Linked DNA regions of Homo sapiens: region 1 is linked to region 2. The links are contacts of gene promoters, found by promoter capture Hi-C in human tissues and cell types (Jung and others, 2019). All regions are on one chromosome and are shown on one strand. The core of a region is centred on a gene start or on the middle of the fragment in contact, and the rest is flanking DNA. Distances in the headings are between cores, read along the strand shown. Region 1 overlaps ZNF500 (zinc finger protein 500). Region 2 holds the start of CDIP1 (cell death inducing p53 target 1).

The links. The method cuts DNA at HindIII sites, captures the fragments that hold promoters and counts their contacts. A contact is called where the count stands out against the background at its distance.
Region 1: a contact is called between a fragment that was not itself captured here and the fragment with the promoter of CDIP1 in region 2, in 1 of the 25 tissues and cell types used here (dorsolateral prefrontal cortex).

The regions. Positions count from the first base shown.
Region 1 is chr16:4,758,937-4,761,736 of GRCh38, forward strand. It overlaps ZNF500 (zinc finger protein 500), which reads right to left. Exons shown (of 6, transcript NM_021646.4): 5 at 1,556-1,652. Among named protein-coding and RNA genes, the nearest start is that of ZNF500, 6.8 kb to the right of the region's middle. The HindIII fragment of the contact is 5,964 bases long and covers 1-2,800 here.
Region 2 is chr16:4,537,387-4,540,086 of GRCh38, forward strand. It overlaps CDIP1 (cell death inducing p53 target 1), which reads right to left and starts at 1,387. Exons shown (of 6, transcript NM_013399.3): 1 at 1,316-1,387. It also overlaps a transcript of C16orf96 not described here. RefSeq lists silencers at 784-1,003, 1,014-1,303. The HindIII fragment of the contact is 9,452 bases long and covers 1-2,700 here.

The sequences.
Region 1 (2,800 bases), core at 103-2,602, 220 kb after region 2:
CGGTAGCTCACGCCTGTAATCCCAGCACTTAGGGAGGCTGAGGCAGGCAGATCACTTGAGATCAGGAATTCGAGACCAGCTTGGCCAACATGGCAAAACCCAGCTCTACTAAAAATAGAAAAATTAGCCGGGTATGGTGGCACACACCTGTAATCCCAGCTACTTTGGGAGGCTGAGGCAGGAGAATCGCTTGAACCTGGAAGGCGGAGGTTGCAGTGAGCTGAGCTGAGATCGTGCCACTCCACTCCAGCCTGGGCAACAGAGCAAGACTTCATCTCAAAAAAAAAAAAAAACCCTGAAAATAACAACCATTGGTATGGATGTGGAGAAACTGGAACCCTTGTGCACTCTTGCTGGGTGCATGAGATGGTGCAGATGCTGTGGAAAACAGCATGGCGGCTCCTCAAAAAATTCAACACAGAATGACCACATATGCTCCAGCCATCCCACTGCTGGATACATCCACCCAGGAACGGAAAGCAGAGTTGATCAGAGATACACTTGTACACCCACGTTCACTGCAGCATTATTTACAATGGAATATTCTTCAGCCTTAAAAAGGAAAAAAATTCTGGAGGTTTCCCAAAGAAGGAAGTCTGCCTCAAGACCGTGGCACAGAAATCCTAAGCTTCCAGTCTGCTGGCCTGGCCTGCAGATTTCAGACTTGTCAACTTCTGTAAGCAACCAAGGGAGCTGTCTAAGTACCCATTCCTTAAAATAAATCTGTGTGTGTGTGTATCTTCTGTTGGTTCTGTTTCTCTGGAGAAGAACCCTAATACAAAGCGATATCTCACTGTCATTAGAAAAGGCTTCAGCATGGCCACGCACGGTGGCTCACACCTGTCATCCCAGCACTTTGGGAGGCCTAGGCCAGCGGATCACCTGAAGTCAGGACTTCGAGACCAGCCTGGCCAACATGGTGATGAAACCCATCTCTACTAATAAAACAAAAATTAGCCAGGCATGATGGCGAGTACCTGTAATCCCAGCTACTTGGGAGGCTGAGGTGGGAGCATCGCTTGAACCCAGGAGGTGGAGGTTGCAGTGAGCCAAGGTTGTGCCACTGCACTCCAGCCTGGGCAACAGAGCAAAAATCCATCTCAAAACAAACAAGCAAACAAAAAACCAGAAAAGGCTTCAGCAGCATCAGGAAAGGCAGGAAGAGACAAACGGACAGAGAAAGAGCTTAGGGGACGGTGCTGGGTAACAGGCAGGGCAGTGCTCAGTGTGATGGGGAGAGGCTGGAGAACCAGGTCCTGTGGGAGCAGCTCTGCCCTTGAGAGGAGGGCACAGGGAAGCTGAAGTGAAGTAGGACCAGCATGTAGGGGGCAGAGGCAGAAGAACAGGATGGCAAGGCAGTGCTGGGCATCTGCCTGAGTCACGGCCGAGTGGCTGTGCAGGCCCTGCAGGTGGGACTCTGCAGGGATACGGGTAGCCCTGTCCACGGAGGATCGCCCCAGGCCAACTGGACCAACAGAACCAAGCCCCGGAGCTGGTGCCTGACAGTTCCTATTTTTGGCAAGCCCCCTAGAGGACACAATCACTTGCAAGTTACCTTCATTCTCCAGCGGCGCGTCCCGCTGAGCTGGGTCCATGCATCTTGGCTCCTCCCCAGAAAGGTATACAGCCACGTCCTCCAAGTTCACGGGCACCTGCCAGAACGCACCCCACTCAGTCCTGGCCCCAAGCAAGCTGCCTCCTCCCCAACTAAGGCCACTGGCCCAGGGAGCTGCACCGCCACTGCCCCTCGAGGCTGGCGCCAAGCCTGGTGGTGCAGCTGGTCTTCTCCACTCTCGTTGCAGTGGTGAGTCCTGGTGTCTCCGCCCACTGCTCCCATGTGCCACTGCTGCAGAGCTGGGACACCACCGGAGAAGGGACAGATTCGCCACGAGGAGTGGTGGACCCACTGCACACTCAGCCACCGAGGCCCATGCTCCACAGGGAGACAAGAGCATCCCCTGGCTCCGTGGCTAGCCAGCCCCAGGACCCCATTGCGGCAGACGGGGGACTTCAGGATGCCTCTGGGCCAGTGGCTCCCAGATGTAGCACCAGATTGACCCGGAAGCATGATTAAAAAAACAAGCAAACTCTTTCCAGAACAGGCAAATTCACAGAGACAAGAAGGAGCTTTGTGGTTGCCAGAGGCTGAGGGAAAAACAGGTAGAGACTCTGGTAATGAGTCTAGGGGGTTTTCGGGGAGGGTCTAAAGGAAATGTTCGGCCGGGCGCGGTGGCTCACACCCGTAATCCCAGCACATTGGGAGGCCAAGGCAGGTGGATCATCTGAGGTCAGGAGCTCCAGACCAGCCTGGCCAACATGGTGAAACCCCATCTGTACTAAAAATACAAAAAAAATTAGCCAGGCATGGTGGTGGGTGCCTGTAATCCCAGCTACTCAGGAGGCTGACGCAGGAAAATCGCTTGAACCCGGGAGCCGGAGGTTGCAGTGAGCCGAGATCGCACCATTGCACTCCAGCCTGGGCAACAAGAGCAAAACTCTGTCTCAAAAAAACAAAAACAAAACAAAACAAATACACATACATACACACACACACACACACACACACACACACACACACACACACACACACATATAAAAATTATAAATAAATAAATAAAAATAAAACAGGCCAGGCATGGTGGCTTATGCCTGTAATCCCAGTGCTTTGGGAGACTTAGGCAAGAGGATCACTTGAGCCCAGGAGTTCAAGACCAGCCTAGGCAGCACAGCGAGACTGTGTCCCATTAAAAAAAAAACAAAAAAAAAACAACTAGCCGGGTGTGGTGGTGCATGCCTGTAG
Region 2 (2,700 bases), core at 137-2,636:
GATTAAGGGCAGAGGGCAAGGCAGAGCTGGCACGCCTCCCTCCACCCAGTTCTACCTAGATCGGCCCCAAGGGAAGCAGCAAAGAACCCAGGAGAGCAGTAACTTGCCCGGGCACCGCCCCGCCCAGCATCAGGCCCCAGAATACAGAAGAAACTGGCAGAAACACTATGGAACGTCCCTGCCCCCGGGCCCGCCAACCCCCTCACTGGGACAGGTTCTCAGCCCCAGCTGCGCCCGGGAATGATCTGGGGAGCCTACTAAATGCAGATTCCTGGGCAGCGCGACGGAACTACAGCATCCCAACACCTGGGGTGGGCCCCAGGAATCTGCCCGTTTCCCAAGAGCCCCAGGTGGTTCTGACGCAGAGGATCTTGAGCCCACCTTTGGAGGAACTCACAGCCACTCGCCCCACCTCATCTAACACCTGTTGAGAAGCCCCCCAAGGAACTCGCTAAGCCAAGGTCCTCGAAGGCGCGACTCCTAGCCCCAAGCTAGGCCAGGCCGTCGCCATCTCCGCCGGGGATGCGCGGCCGAGCGCCACATCCCGACTCCACACGTCGGCGAGCCGGGCGCGGGTGCAGGACACTGCTGGGCTCCGGGACGGCCAAGGTCACCCGCGGGGCTCGGCAGGGGCTGGCTCGGCCACGGGGCTCCTCCTCGACCCCCTTTCCTTGAGAAAACAACTCCCACCCCTCCCCTCCCCGTCTCGCCCTGCAAGACGGAGATGGCAATTTCCACAACCTTCCCTGACGGAAAAACGTGCGGGCGAGCAGGCTGCCATTCCGGGCGCACAACCCCGCGGCACACAGCGGGGCGCCCGCCCGGGCCCCGCCACCGCAGCGGCTTCGACATCCCCAGGGCCGCGCTAGGTCTCGGCAGCGCCCTGAGGGGAGGACGGGCCCCGCCATGCCGCGCCCCAACCGCCGGCCCCGCTTTACCTCCAGAAGCCCGGTGCCCGAGGCCGGCCGAAAGCGGAGAGGGGCCCGGGTCCGGACAGGCGCCGGCAGAACAAGACCCTCAGCCCCGCGCGGCTTTGCGCGCACAACGAAACCCCCCAACCCACCGCCCACCCCACCGCCCAGAGGCTTCTAGGACTTGTAGTCCGCCCGGTCACCCCCCCCACCACAACCCGCTCTGAGAGGCTGGGGACTACGGTGCCCGGCATGCACCGCCCAGGCGCCGCGGGCGGGGGCGGGGAGGGGGCGCCACGGTCCGAGGTCACGCCCCGACCTGAGGAGAGCTGGCGCCCAGACCCTTCCCCCGGGGAGGAGGGCTCCCGCGCGAAGCCGTCTCCGAATGCGTCCAGTCGACTCACCGTCCCCGCAGCCCTGGGGCAGCGGCCGCAACAGCAGGACCGAACGCCTCGGCAGCTGGCAGTCGCACTTCTGTCACAAGGAGGCGGGTAGACTTTGGACCAGGGCCGAGGCCCGGGACGTCACGGTGGGGGGTGGGGTCTCGGGAGGCACGTGATGCGCCGTGATGACGTCAGTGGGAGCGGAGGCGATTTGGCCTAGAGCTGGGGCTGAGCACGTGGGATGGTCGGGGCCTGTTTGCCCAATGTACACGAGGCTGGAGAATAGGGAAAGAACCGTCCCTGTGAGCGCCTCCTCTTCACTCATGCCAGCAACAGGGCAGGGCATCTTCCTCCAGGGCTGCATTTTTTCTTTTATGCGACTAATATTTATTGAGTTTGGGAGGTGCATTACATAAAACCTTGAACCACACGGTCACTGTCCCTGCGCTTGAAACTGCCTTTGCAAAAATTACAACAGAAAATTATGACAGTGAAAGAGAGCTGACCTAACCCACTCCATCTTGCTTCTAACCTCCAGGTTGTCCTTGTTCATTCCTAGGCATAGGCAGAACTAACTTTGGGAGCAACTTAGTTTATAGTTTAATATTGAAACAAAGATAGTTAACAGCCCTTTCCCAAAACAAACCCCCTTGTTGCCTGAGAACCAGGCTTCCTTTGTAAGAGTAACACGTTAGCTACAAGATTAGACATTATAGTTTAGGGCCCAGCTCAGTGGCTAACGCCTGTAATCCCAGCACTTTGGAAGGCTGACGCAGGTGGATCACTTGAGGTCAGGAGTTTGAGACCAGCCTGGCCAACATGGTGAAACCATGTCTCTATTTAAAAATACAAAAATTAGCCGGGTATGGTGGCACGCACCTGTAATCCCAACTACTAGGGAGGCTGAAGCCCAAAAATTGCTTGAACCCGAGAGATGGAGGTTGCAGTGAGCTGAGATTATGCCTCTGCACTCCAGCCTGAGCAAGAGACTGAGACTCCATCTCAAAAAAAGAAAGAAAGAAAGAAATTACGGTTTAGGAGTCATGCACCCAGAGGCCACAAGATTCTAAACCTCCCCAGTTGATCCTAGGTATAATATCACTATTGTAAAACCTAAGATTGGTACTCTTAGGTGTTTTTCTGACCCTGCAGTCTGATGCACCAGCCAAGGCCACCTAGAGCTGTAATCTGACTCAACCAGTTCTTGCATCCTTCAACACCCTGTGATTTCATCTCCCACCCCACCAATCAGCACTCCCTACTCCTTGGCAGCTTATCTACCAAATTACCCTTTAAAAACTCTAGGCTCTGAATTTCCAGGGAGACTGATTTGAGTAATGAAACTTTGGTCTCCCATTCAGCCAGCTCTGTGTGGATTAAACTCTTTCTCTATTGCAGTTCCCCTG